3 separate regions of the Homo sapiens genome follow, and all the other regions are linked to region 3. The links are contacts of gene promoters, found by promoter capture Hi-C in blood cells and fetal thymus (Javierre and others, 2016). All regions are on one chromosome and are shown on one strand. Each heading gives the region's core, a stretch centred on a gene start or on the middle of the fragment in contact. The rest is flanking DNA. Distances are from core to core; before and after follow the strand shown.

Evidence for each region. The method cuts DNA at HindIII sites, captures the fragments that hold promoters and counts their contacts. A CHiCAGO score of 5 or more calls a contact.
Region 1: a contact is called between a fragment that was not itself captured here and the fragment with the promoter of RAB31 in region 3, in 1 of 17 cell types (monocytes). The highest score is 5.5, in monocytes.
Region 2: a fragment that was not itself captured here is called in contact with the fragment with the promoter of RAB31 in region 3 in 1 of 17 cell types (neutrophils); the score reaches 6.3 in neutrophils.

What each region holds. Positions count from the first base shown.
Region 1 is chr18:9,822,032-9,827,028 of GRCh38, reverse strand. The region is part of intron 5 of RAB31 (RAB31, member RAS oncogene family); the gene reads right to left. Among named protein-coding and RNA genes, the nearest start is that of TXNDC2, 61 kb to the left of the region's middle. The HindIII fragment of the contact is 822 bases long and covers 1,695-2,516 here.
Region 2 is chr18:9,595,790-9,600,131 of GRCh38, reverse strand. All of the region lies in intron 2 of PPP4R1 (protein phosphatase 4 regulatory subunit 1), which reads left to right. Among named protein-coding and RNA genes, the nearest start is that of PPP4R1, 17 kb to the left of the region's middle. The HindIII fragment of the contact is 2,232 bases long and covers 228-2,459 here.
Region 3 is chr18:9,705,580-9,710,278 of GRCh38, reverse strand. RAB31 (RAB31, member RAS oncogene family) reads right to left here and starts at 1,978. Exons shown (of 7, transcript NM_006868.4): 1 at 1,835-1,978. The coding sequence starts at 1,873. LOC124904244 (a long non-coding RNA gene) reads left to right here and starts at 2,307. Exons shown (of 2, transcript XR_007066281.1): 1 at 2,307-4,699. LOC105371981 (a long non-coding RNA gene) reads right to left here and starts at 1,607. Exons shown (of 2, transcript XR_935131.2): 1 at 286-1,607. RefSeq lists silencers at 1,384-1,613, 1,714-2,283. The HindIII fragment of the contact is 11,750 bases long and covers 1-4,699 here.

The DNA of each region.
Region 1 (4,997 bases), core at 856-3,355, 120 kb before region 3:
TGCTATGCGGAATGTATGGGGTTGGAGTAATTTCTCCCAAGGAATGACTTATTATGGCAGCTATAGGTCAAGGCTGCCCATGCTTGTCAGAGGAAGTGTGAGGGAGTGATTCTTGCTTAAGGGCCAGGGTGGGATAGGATATGCTCTTCTTCCTCTGACCTTCCCTCCTTCGCGGAGGATCCTGGCCACATGGCCCTAAAGCAAATGGTTCCTGAAATACCTGCAGGTCCTCTCACAGAGGTCCCAAAGCCAGGTACCCTTAACCCCTTACCCAAGCCAAAGGCAACCAAGCACAGGCTGGATATAAGGGAGTCGAACCATCCAGAAGAGGGATCATACATTACTTCAGTTTCACAATAATTTGAGCAGAGGAAGAATTTGTTTAGGGTTGTTCAAAATAGGAAAATCTTTCACCAAGATCAGGAACCTAGAAAAAGATCCAAGCTAAATAGGGTAGCCTCATATTAATTTGAACCCAATCACATCTCTTCTCCTGGTGATTATGAATGTGGGGTGTGAAAGGGGGCAGAGAGGCCCTGGAAATGCTTTGGAAGAGATTAAAGATGAAGGGCCAATGGTGTCACTTTTGTGTTTTGTGTGTGTGTTTTTTTAAATAATTTCAACTTTTTTGTTTGTTTGTTTGTTTGTATTTTGAGACAATGTCTCGCTCTGTCACCCAGGCTGGAATGCAGTGGTGCGATCTCAGCTCACTGCAACCTCTGCCTCCTGGGTTCAAGCAATTCTCATGTGTCAGCCTCCCAAGTAGCTGGGATTACAGGCGTGTGCCACCACACCTGGCTAATTTTTGTATTTTTAGTAGAGGGGGGTTTCATCATGTTGGCCAGGCTGGTCTTGAACTCCCAACCTCAGGTAAGCTGCCCACCTCAGCCTCCCAACATGTTGGGATTACAGGTGTGAGCCACCCTGACCAGCCAATAATTTCAACTTTTATTTTAGATTCAGAGGGGTACGTGTGCAGGTTTGTTACATGGGTATGCGGGGTGACACTGAGGTTTGGGGTACAATTGATTCTGTCACCCACGTACTGAGCACAAGAGGAAGTTTTGCAACTGTCCCCCACTCCTTCCTGCCTCTGAAGCTCCCAGTGTCTGTTTCCATCTTTATGTCCGTGAGTGCCCAATGCTTACTTCCCCTTATAAGTAAGAACATGCAGTATTTGATTTTCTGTTCCTGGATTAATTTGCTTAGGATAATGGGTGACACTTTTGAATCCTGAAAGATGATGAGTCATTGTTTTCATTCTCCAGGAAGCCTGAAGGGCAAGAGAGAAGCCCAGACAGTGCAGCCTGCAGTTAGAGACCTGTACAGATGCCAGGATAGATTCTGGGACTTCCTCATTCTTCTCTACCATAAACTCCTACTGACGAAAGCAATGCTTTTCCGAGAATGACCCTTGGACCACTTGTAAAAGGATCACTTTTTAAAATGCACATACCCTTGCCTGCCTCTTCCTATTGAATCAAAATCTCTGGACCTGGTTCCTAGAACTGGAATTTTTAACAAGTGCACTATGGTTTCTTGAATTCATGAAACTTTTAAAACCACTGAGGCAAGGTTACAACCTATTTCTCTTTTTTTCTTTGCAAGACTCAACTGCCCTGTTTTTCCCACCAGACCCAGGAAAAGGACATGCAGCGTCCTGTAGGGCTCTCCAGACTTTCTGAGACAAAGCTTTCTTTTCTATTTAGACCCTAGGCCAATCTGCTGTCCTAGAATAGCACAGACCTTGAATTAGCCCCATGCCATGTGCTACTTGTTCAGAAACTTGCTGCCAGCCCCAGCTCGCACACAGACTAGGTTCTCCTGCCATCTTGACCAGGCAAGTCAGCTGGTACCCCAGATCCTGTGGATTCAATCCATTTGAGGTTCTTATTTTCTTGCAACTCTGACAATCCCTTAAATGTCCCCAACTGTGCAAGCCTAACTCCAGCATCAGCAGATGGTGGAGAGAACAGAATGGCCTGCCCCACCAGGAACTGCACACTCTCCACCCCTGGGAGCTGTGACCAGAACATTCATGGGGAGGGAGAAGAGCGGCAGGAAGGACGGGGGGTTACACCCCTGAGCACCTACTCTGTGCAAGTCCAGGACAGTCTTCTCACATTCCACTTTGCTTTCATGCCTCAAATTCAGAGGGACCATACATTACTTCAGTTTCACAATAATTTGAGCAGGGGAGATTTTGTTTAGGGTTGTTCAAGATAGGAAAATCTCTCACCAAGATCAGGAACCTAGAAAAAAATCCAAGCTAAAAATCCTGAGTGTACCTGACCGGATGCCTCTGAATGCCTTCCACTCTGGGAGTGGGGCGGACCTTTATACCATCTTCTGGAACATGCAAGAAGATGAAACACACTGAACAGGCATCTCTGCCAAGTACTTCTGCACTCAAATGCCTTAAGTGGGCTGAGCCAAGGTTGGAGGGCGAATTCCATTTCCATCCAGCAAATTCTCAAAATAGGCCAGGCAGAGCTCCTTCCAAGAATTGACAAGCTTACACAACCAAAGTGTGTTGGATGAGATCAGTTCCACCAACACACACACACCTACACACACACATCTACACACACACTCATACACACACATCTACACACACTCATATACACATACATCTACACACACACATACACATCTACACACACACACCTATACACACATCTACACACACATTTATACACACATACATCTACACACACATACACATCTACACACACATACACACACATCTACATACACATCTACACACACACTCATACACACATACATCTACACACACACATACACACACACATACAAACACATCTACATCCACACATATCTACACACACATATCTACATACTGTCCTGCTACAACCCTCAGTTAAAAATCAAATACAGTTTTCTGGGAATTACAGGAGAGCAAAGTACTTTGGGATTAGAGTAAAAGAAGGTCAAGCTCTGAATAAGGTCTGGGGTTTAGAGGTTTGGCTAACTCCCCAGAAAAGTTATATCAGCAGGCAGAATCTGGAGCAGCCAGATTGCTGACCAAGAACCGATTCCCCCACCATAGAAACGTGTCAACAAGCCGGTGCCCACTAGGTTCCCAGGCCCTATCACTTACCGACTATTCCTGTCTCACAGGAGACAGACATTCTGGGCAGAGACCCAGGCAGCAGTCTTCCCCTTCCCTCTTTCCTAAATGGGAATTTTTAATACAGTTACCCTGTTTATCTTTTGTACCTTAGGTGTGCTGGAGATGGTTAATTTAATCATTTGGCCCAGTGTGTTTACAAAATTTTTGTCAAATACATCCCCCTTTGTAATTTTTGCCATGTGTATATAATATATATAATGCATATGTATCACACATACCCTCACCTGACTGTTCCAATATTTATTATTTTTATCTAAATCAACTTTTTGTTAATCAGATTTTTTACTGAGATAACCGTAGATTCGTTTACATGCAGTTGTAAGAAACAGTACCAAGCGATTTCTCATACACTTCGCCCAGTTTCCCTAAATGGTCACATCTTGAAAAACTATGGTATAATATCACAAAGAGGACATTGTCATTGATGCATTCTATCTTATTCAGATTTCTCCAGTTTTACTTGTATGCACTTATGTATGTGAGTTAAGCTGTATACAATTTTACCACCTGTGTAGGTTCCTGTGTCCACCACCACAGAGAAGATACCAAGCAGTGCCGACACCACAGGGTCCCTTATGTTGCTCTTTCAAACCCATGCCCACTTTCCTCCCCGTCCCCCACCCCTACTTCCCCTTATGATAGGCCCTGGCAATCAGTAATCTATCCTCTATTTCTAAAATGTTATATAAATGGAACCATGCAATGTGAAACCTTTGGGACTGGCTTCATTCACTCGGCACAATTCCCCTGAAGATGCATTTCGAGCTGTGTGTATCAGCAGTTTGCCTCCTTTTAGTGCTGAGTAGTAGTCCATGGTATGGATGCACCACAGTTTGTTTAGCCATTCGTAACTGAAGGACATCTGGGCTGATCCCAGTTTAGGACTATTACAAATAACGTGTCTATGAATATTCATGTGCAGGTTTTGTGTGAACATAAGTTTTCATTTCTCCAGGATAAATGCCCGTGAATGTGATTGCCAGGCCATATGGTAACTGCACGTTTAGTTTTATAAGAAACTGCCAAACTGTTTTCCAGAGTGGCTGTGCCATTTTGCATTCACACCGGCAACGTATGGATGACTCAGTTTTTCCATATCCTCACCAGCATTAGGTGTTGTCGCTGATTTTTATTTTAGCCATTCTGATAGGTTTGATGATGATATTGAACGTCGCCTTATATCCTTCCTCACCATCTTCCTATTCTCTCAGGTGAAATGTCTGTTTATGTCTTTTGCCATTTTCAAATTTTTTCATGTAAATTTTGTGAGTTCTTTATATAGTCTACATACTAGTCCCTTATAGATATATAGTTTGCAAATATTTCCTCCTAGTCTGTAGCTTGTCTTTCATCCTCTTCACACCTCAATATTTCACAGAGCAAATATTTTTAAGTTTTTAAATTTTAAGGGTGTCTAATTTATCAGTATTTCCTTATATGAATCGTGCTTTTAATGATAAGTCTAAGAACTCTTTGCCTAACCCCAGATCTTTAAATTTATTTTCTTTTAGAAGTTTTTCTAAAAGTTTTATGGGTTAACATTTTACATTAAAGCCTGTGATTCATTTTAGACTAATTTTATATAAGGTTGAGGTTTGTTTTTGTTTTGCCTATTGATGTCCGATTACTCTATTTGTTGAAAAGGTCATTGGTTGAATTGCTTCTTCTGTTGAACTACCTTTGCATCTTTGTCAAAAAATCAATTGAGCATATTTGTGTAGATTTATTTCTGGGTTCTCTATTCTGTTCCATTGATCTATGCATCCGTCTCACTGCCAATACCATACTGTCTCGATTACTGTAGCTATATGGTAAGCCTTCATATAGAACAGAGTGATTCTTT
Region 2 (4,342 bases), core at 94-2,593, 110 kb after region 3:
AGTGATTATCAATCATGATAGAGTGATAGCAAAACATTTGAAGCAGAATATGATTTTGTTACCTTCTAGGAGTAGGCTTCTTAAGTATGGTTGTATAACAGTCTGCATTTAAATTAGTGGGGTTATTCATTTAAAAATAAATGCTCCTGAGCCTTACTCCAGACTAACATAATCAGTATCTGAGTGTGGGATCTAGGTATCTGCATTTTAGGTAAGTGCCACAAGCTTGTCTTGAACATAATTATGTTTGACAGTCACAGCTGTAGGAGTTTTTTCCCACTGCCCTTTGCTTTTTATGGGCCAGAATCAATTTTATTGTTTATCTTTAAGATTAACAAGTATGAGACTGATGAAACAGTTTGGTCATAGTCATAGAATTCTACAGCCTTTATAAAGGTGCTTCAAGGTTATGCTAGCTTAACAGTCTTATAAAGGAGAAAACTGAGGCCAGATGAGAGTGGCTGAGTGGCTTTTACAGCTCTGATTTATAATTAATAAGGTATTTTGCTATGAATTGTAGACAGAATAAGCTGCAGTGTATAATTATGTTCATGGTTAGGTGTTGTTTGTAATCCAATTTGACAGTCTCTGCCTTTAGTTGGGCTATTTAGACCATTTGCAGTTAATGTAGTTACTGATATGGTTGTGTTTAAATCTCTTTATCTTGTTGTTTCTCATTTGTTGTCCCATCTCTTCCTTGTTCCCTTTATTCTCTTTTTCTGCCTTCTTTTAGATTACTTAGGTGGTGTACTGGCTTAGTAGTTATATGTCTTTGGTGTATGTGTGTTTCTTTTTAAATAATGATTGCTTTAGAGTTTATAATTAATATGCATTTTTACCTTTCCACAGTCTAACTTCAAGTAATATGTATCTCTTCACACACAGCGTAAGAGCTTTATAACAGTATACTTTACCCTTTTCCTGCCTTTGTGCTATTATAGTCATACATTATACTTCTACATATGTTGTGAACCCCACAATATATATTTATCCATTTATTTCTTAGTACGTATTTTTATTTAAGCAGTTATCTTAAAGATTTGAAAAATAAGAAATTTTTTATTTATCCCATATTAACCTTTTTTTTTTCTTTCTTTCTTTTTCTGGAGACAGGGTCTTGCTTTGTCTTCCAGACTGGGGTGCAGTGGTGCCATCTCAGGTCACTGCAGCTTTGACCTCCCAGGTTCAAGCAGTCTTCCTGCCTCAGCCCCTTAAGTAGCTGGGACTGCAGGTGCACGCCACCATGCCCAGCTAATTTTTGTATTTTTTTTTAGAGGCAAGGTTTTACTATATTGCCCAGGCTGATCTTGAACTCCTGAGCTCAAGTGATCCATCCGCCTCGGCCTCTCAAAGTGATAAGATTACAGGCGTGAGCCACTGTGCCTGGCCCCATATTAATTGTTTCTGATGTCCTTTATTCTTCTGTATAGATCCAGATTCTCATCTGGTGTAATTTTCCTTTTGCTGGAATGGTTTGCTTTATTATTTCCTATAGTGCATGTCTGCTGTTGATGATGTCAGTTTTTGTGTGGCTGAAAAAAATCTTTATTTCAGCTTCATATTTGAAAGATGTCTTGTTTCTTAGGTATGGAGTTGTAGGTATTTTTCTTTATGTACTTGAAAGATGTTAATGTCTTCTGGCTTGTATTTTAGATGGAAAAGTCTCCTATCATTCTTTTGTTTTTCTCTATGTAACATGAGTTTTTCTCCGGCTGCCTGAAAGTTTTTATCACTAGCTTTAAGCAATTTGATTATATTGTGCCTTGGTATACTTTTCTTCATGTTTCTTGCTCATGGGTTTCATTGAACCCCTTGAATCTGTCTGTAGATTGATAGTTTTTACCAAATTTGGGAAAATTTTGTCCATTATTTCTTCAAATATATTTTATATCTCCCATTCTTCTTTGGGGACTCCATTTGCACATATATTTGGATGCTTGGAGTTTTCCTACAATTGATTGATGCTTAATTCTCTTCCTCCCCCATATTTTTTCTGTTTCATTTAGGATATTTTTCTTACCCTTTTTCTTCAAGGTAACACATTTTTTCCTCTATAATGTTTAATCTGCTCTTGATCCCATCCCGTGTATTTTTCATATCTTTTTTTCATCTCTAAAAGATCAATTTAGGTCTTTCGTATCATCTTCCATCTCTGTTCTTAACATGCTCTTTTTTTCTGCCTTCTTAAATGTATGGAATATAGTTAAAATAACTTTCAATGTTCTTATCTGCTAATTCTATATTTTTTGTCCTGGGTCTGTTTCTGTTGTAGAATTTTTTGCCTCATGGTTTGTATTTTCCTGCCTTTTGTGTGCCTAGTAATTTTTTATTGGATGCTAGACATTGTAGAGTTTACCTTGTTGAGTGCTAGCTATTTTTATATTCATTTACATACTCGAGTTTTGTTCTGTGACACAGTTTCTTGGAGATAGTTTGTTTCTTTTGAAGCCTGTTAAGCTTTGTTAGGCAAAACCAGGAGAATTATTTGCCACTTCTTAGGCGTTTTGCCTCATTTATTTTAGAATTTTTAAAATTTTTGTTGTTGGAGACATAAACTAGTCCTTGTCCTTTGTGATAATCGAGGATTCGTTCACTTGATCGTTTCAGGTAATTATTTTTCCCAGAATACCGACTAGTTTCCTCACACACATAAACTGTTTCAATACTCACCTAAAGACTCAAAGGGACTTTCTGCAGCTTTCTAAAGTTCTTTCTCTGTGAAGGTCCCTCCTCTCTGATACTCTCCCTCTGCCAATTCTAGCTGCCTTGGCCTCCCTGAATTCTCAACTCTGTCTCCTCAACTCCAGGAGTCTGCTGGGATTATATTTGGACCCTCCTAGTGCTCTGGAAATTATTTCCAGGAAGTTAGCTGGAGGAATATAGGGCTCATTTCATTTGTCCTCTCTTTCTCAGAGATCACTGTCCAGTACTGTCTTTTGTCCAGTGTCTGAAACCATGGCTTCGTATGTTTTATCTTTTTTTTAAGAGATGGGGGTCTCACTGTGTTTCTCAGGGGCTAGAGTGCAGTGGCTATTCACAAATGCAGTTATAGAAGAGTACACCCTCGACCTCCCGTGCTCAAACAGTCCTCCTGCTTCAGCCTCCTAAGTAGCTGGGACTACAGACACTATCAGCATGCCTGGCTCTGTCATTTTATTTATTTATTTACCATTTAAGGTGTGAGGGTTAAGTTGGTTCCTGTTAATCCATCCTTTGTCAAAAGTGGAAGATCATGTTTAAGTGTTCTTTAAGTACAGAAGTTATTTTTATTTTAACAAAAGGAACTGTTGTGTTCTCTTTTTGATAATGTTCTGTTGGGAGTAAAAATGTTATCTGTTTAAAGTAGTCAGTTCTGTAAGATGGGCCCATGGTATATACACATTTACTTTAAAAACAAGCATTTTAAAATGCCCTAACAGCAATAACAGTTCATCAGGAAATGATGAATCTTTTCTGTCTCTCATATAGCAACATTTGGGAGGAGTTTCTTAGGTGGTTTTCTTTTTCTCTCTTAAGAGCTAAAGGAGCAACGACAAAATCTCATTGTGAGTGATGAACAGATTTATTTGTTTCAAAAATACTTAAATGCTTACTTTGTGCCTGGAAATATCCTGGAGATGAAGCAGTGTATGGGATAAAAATTTCTGTCCTCATGGAGCCAATAACTTACTCTAGAGAGACAGACTATAAGTAAAACAACTAATACGTACCAGATGTTGACAGGCACTATTGAGAAAGTAAATCAAGTAATGCAGGGGATAGAATAGGAAGTGCCAGGAAATAATAATAAAAATTTCTTGGAAAGCTCTTAGGGCTTTGGGAAAGGCCCTGATTTACCTCTGGATCGCATCCTTTCCAACCCCATGGTGTTTCCATCAGTAATATTTTCTTATTGCTAAAACTTCAATTTATATTTATTTGTTGACTGTTTACTTTCATTATATAACCATGTGCAACTCTGTCTTCTTTTAAACATTAGGAACAGAACAAAATAAATAATCTTTATTTTGCTTGAATGCCCTGGCTAGTAATCTAATCCAGTTTACTATATCACAGCCACAGTTCTGGAAAGTATATTTTGTATTCATTGTCTTCACTTTATTATATTTTCCTTTACCTCTTCAGTCAGGTTTGGCTTCTCGGCTTTCATGCAATGGAAAATTGCCCTTGTCACACAGCATGGCACAAAAGTACCAAATTCAGTGGGCACCTTTCAGTTCTTCCTTGACTCCTTTGGTAGTAGATGCTGTTTAATCATACTTTCACTCATTGCTTGGTTCCTTTGAAATAATTACCTTTTGGTTAGTTTTTAGCCATTCTTTCTTGGTCTTCTCTTCCTTCT
Region 3 (4,699 bases), core at 729-3,228:
AGGGGGAACATGTTATTATGCCCATTTCATAGATGAGGCCACTGAGTTGCTTTGCTAAAACGACACAGCTCTTTGGTGGGAAAGAACGAGAGCCTAGGTTTCCTGCCTCTTGACACAGGGTTCTTGCCACCTGATCAGTGTCCTGGTAGGAGGACATAGAGACCTGTCCCTAAACACCGAAACTGAAAATAAGGGGTCCTGTGACACGGCAGGGCTTGGACCACCTCAGTAAAAGTCAAGAGAAAAGAGTTGCAGAAAAAAAGGCAAAAATATGTCCTATTTCACCTTTCCCAAGGCCAGTCCTGACAAACACGGCACATCAAGGCTGCCTCTTCATTCCTTGGAACACGACATTCCTTCTAAGTCTCTGAAGGCCTTTCCTGAGGCTGAAATGGCCCCTCAAGAGGGAAGCATGGGATTCCTGGAATTTATGTCTGGAAATATTAGAGGGCCTGGGGAACAGGAAAACCCACTCCTGCCACACAAAAAGGTCAACAGAGAAAGACCAGACTAGATCCTGGCTGTGGCTGAGCAAGTCGGGGGAGGTGGGGATCTGTGCGGATCTGTGCCAGGGGCTAGCAGGGAGGGCAGGGCCTTCCCAGATCCTCTGGAATTCTAAGCCAACCGGACAATCGAGTTAGCGTAAGGGATGGTTTTGGAAGAGGCCGGTGATGGGAGCCGATGATGGGAGCCTGCCGGAGGTTCCACAAGAGCCTAGAGGAAGCCTAGAGACGCTGGCACAATTCAGTCCTCACCGAAATCATTTCCTCTTTCTACAGTTCTTGTACCCCCATCTTGACAGATCAGTTCGCACAAGAATGCGACCCTTTCGCTGCCCTTTTTTAGGAAATGGTTTTCATGAGACCAGCTTTGCCAATGACACGGGCGGGTACACCAGATGCTAATGGCTGCTGAAAACGCCCTTAGAACCGGCTCTTCTTTTAGAAGAAGGAATTCTGGAATGCGGAGTGGGCCCCCGAAAGGAAGCGACCCTACGTTTATCTGAATTCCCAGGGGCGGTTCGCCAGCGGCTCCCTGCGTCCTCGCCGGGTCCCCTGTCTGCAGTCCCCGGGCCGCACGGATTGACTGCTTTTTTGTTTCTGGCTGCTTTAAGGCTTCTTCGGGCGGAGAAAACCCCACTTTAGGGGAGTGATGGTGGGGAGGACTTTCCCAGGCAGCTTCTTTCACCCGCAGCAGGGAAGTTTGCAGGGCGCGCTCCGCACAGGTCACTGCCTCACCTTCCACCCCGGCCGCGCCCTCGGCTTTCACCCCCTTGGCTGGGTTCGCTTTTGGTTTTATTTTTCTGTTTTACGTGAGTAAATCAATTGCCCCCAGGAGGCAAAAGAGCACTCAGCGACTTGGCTGAGCAACTTAAACTTTCTGCCGGAAGGAAACTATCAAAAGCGGAGGAGAAAGCCCTCGGGGCCCCAGACTCGCCGCCACTGCCCCGTCCCCGCTGGGGGTCCCCGCGAGGTCGCCGCGGATCCGGGGACTCGCGGGCCGGGAGGAAAGAGCGGAGTAAGCCCGGGGCAGGCTCGGACCCGGACCCCGGCAGGGTGAGAGCGGGGGCGGACCAGAGGGGCGCACGGACGGCGGGGAGGCGGAGAACAGGCGGGGTGCGGAGAGCGAGGGGCGCGGAGAGCGAGGGGCGCACGGACTAGGGGAGCCAGGGGGACCCGGGGAACCAGGGGGCGCGCGGACGAGGGGGACGGGGGCTACGAGAGGGGTGCGGAGAGCGAGGGGATCACGGGGACTGAGCGCGCAGGGAATAGGGGAGCGAAGGGGCGCGAGAGCGCGGGCCGGGGTCCGCCGGCGGGTGGCGGCCAGGACTCACCCCGAGAAGGCACACTTTGAGCTCCCGTATCGCCATCATGTGCTCGCAGCCAGGCAGTGCCGGGGCTCAGCAGCATCCTCCGGGGCCGCCGCGCCCGCGCCCCGCCGGCGTCTCTCGCCTCTGCCCCTCGCTCGCGCCGCCCGCGGGCGGAACCGCCGCCGCTGCTATTTCTGGGCCGCCGGCCCCGCCGCGGTGGGTCACGTGGCCGCCGGCCGGCTCCTCCCGGGCGCGTCGGGTCCAGCCTCGCCGGCCCCCAGCTCCCAGGAACGCCCCCGGACGGCGTCAGCCACCCGGGACCTGCGGCGTCGCCGGCGGATTGCCTCCGCCCTCGGACCAGCCCCGCGCGGGTCGGCCTCCCCCAGCGCCCTCCGGCATCCGCCCCTCCCGGCCCCGCCTGGCCGCAGGGCCCGGGTGGGTAGGAAGGACTGGACCGGCCCTGTGGAGACCTGGCCCCACTACCAGCGGGTCCCTGAAGATGCCATTCTCATCTGGAAAGCGAATGCTCTCGGCCGAGGCCGTTTGCGTGGCAGCGCGTGGAGGTCTGCGGGGGTCCCATCCTCAAGCGACATTCTGGGTCCCACGCAGAAAAAGTCAGGCCACTGAAGGGGCCGCTGTGAGGACAGGGGTGAGGAGAAGGGGGCTAACTTTTCGGCCTGCCTTTCTCGACGTTCCTAATACCCGAGCTTCCGTTTAACATATGTGTGGCTCTTCAGCTCAGCCAAGTTCATTTTTCTGTATGCAGCTGAAAATGATTCTAGAAGCAAAACTCGCTGTCCGTGTCTGAAACGGGAAACTTGCTTTCTGGAGCAAAAGTCTTTTTCTCAGTAGAGCAAATCCTGCAACTCGTGTGGGCAGAAACCCAGTCCTCAGAGGTACAGGTAGAAACGTGGAGATCCCAGCAGACCCCTGCATCGTTCCTAACTGGGAAATGAGCAGAGTCTGTGGCCGCACACAGTCGGGGAGGCTTGGGTAACTGTGTTCTCTTCTCCATGTATGGCCTAGAGCACCTCATCCACTCGGATGACTTCATTCGTTGCTGCTACAGAAATGTCAGCCTTTTCAATGTAATCTATCTGAACAATTCACTGGCATTTCAGATGGGAAATGTTTTTTTAAAAACTGATTTTTTGAAACTTCATCTCCTATCCCAAACTCTCAGGCCTCTCTCTTAACCTTCCAATTTTAATCAATGGCATTTCCATTCTCCTAGCAGACCACCCACCGTGATCATCTGGCTTTGTTCTTACGGAAGCCAGGTTGAAGCTACCCAGTACCCAAGTAGCCCCATCCAATGGGAAATTCCAAATCAAGGCCTCCAAAGAGATAAGTCCTGGAATACAGGAGTCAAAATGGGCCCCGAAACAGACAATTCACAATTAAATTCCCCAGAAGAGCAGGAAGTTTGCCCTCGAGGTGCAGGCTTGTAGAGATTACTCAAATGGACTAAACTGTACAAAAGGCAGCCATGGACAAGTTACAGGTCCATTGTATCAGTATCCGTCCTTGACTCTGTATCCAAAGCAGAGTCTTCTATGTGGGCAGGGTAAAAAGAGGCTTCCCCAGAATCAAACAGTCCTGATCACAATATCTCCCTGCCCTCAGATTTGCTAATCAGAAAACCACCCCTACACAGTTGCAAAGACACCTCCCCCAAGGCCTTCGCCAGCCCTGAGGGCACCTCCACAGTGAAACATGTCCTTTTGGCTTTCCAGCTTGATTCCCAAAAGCCAGTCAAACCAGGGTGGAAGCCTCCACTGTGTTCTACATCCCGTGCAGTGAGTGGAGCTTTGTGAAGTTGCCTTAGATTGCTAAGGGCAGAACTGTGCCCAGACAGAAATAGGCAAACCGAATTTCTCTTGTGTTCCCTTACTCTTTTTCATGACTGCTCTCATTCTGCTCTCTTCTCCACTAGCCCGGGTGTCTGGGACGCTTGCGTCGTTTCTAGGCTCTCCCAAAAGAGTCTCGTATCCAGCCCTTCCCTCCCTGAGAATCGCCCCAGTCTATTTGTCCTTCTCCCCTCCCCTAGTTCTGTTAAAAATGACCTCATTTGTGTCTCATTCTGATCAGGTCTTGGGCTCTTCTTTACAAAGTGGCAATCCTAGTCTGTCAACTGACTCGTGTTCATGGGTTTATACCCTCTTCCCAGCCAGGTCACCCCTGAGCTTAAACATGGCCTCATGAAAACCAGGTCCCCATGATCACCCTAAGGTAACCTACAAAGCTCTAGCCCTGGAAGGCAGGAAGATGACTGCTGGGAGACATATTTTAAGAGTGACACGTCAGAGGCAGCTCTCGACTTTTTAAAAAAGTGCCATGTTCTCTATTGTTACACTCTATGATTACTGTACTAAGGGCCCATCCTGACTTCTCTGGAATTTTCTGCAAATATGTAGTTCTGGTGTAACTTCAGCAGGGGTAAAAATTCAATGGTACATAACTGACAATTTATCAAATTAAGAAATAGAACATGCAAGTTTTTCTTATAAGAATTTTGTAACGTAAATGGTCATTGTGCTAATTCAGACCTCAACTTCTCTGCTGCTATAAAGTCTCCAACAGAAAAAGCCAGTAATGGTCATAAAACTGATCATGTTTTTTGATTCAGGAAATCCTTTTTTGAACAATAACATACAAAGACGAAAAGTAAACAAAGCTGCCTGTTTGAATATAAACACATATGCAGACAAAAAAAACAAATAAATGGGTTAGAGAAACAACAACAAAAAAATTACATCCATGGAGGTAAAGGGAGGATTGTTGCGTTAATTGTAACTCAAACCTCTTAACACTTGAGGAATGATTAAGCAAGCTAGGGTGTCGTTACTGGGTATATTTGATGGTGTACAATAGTATATGTTACTTAGA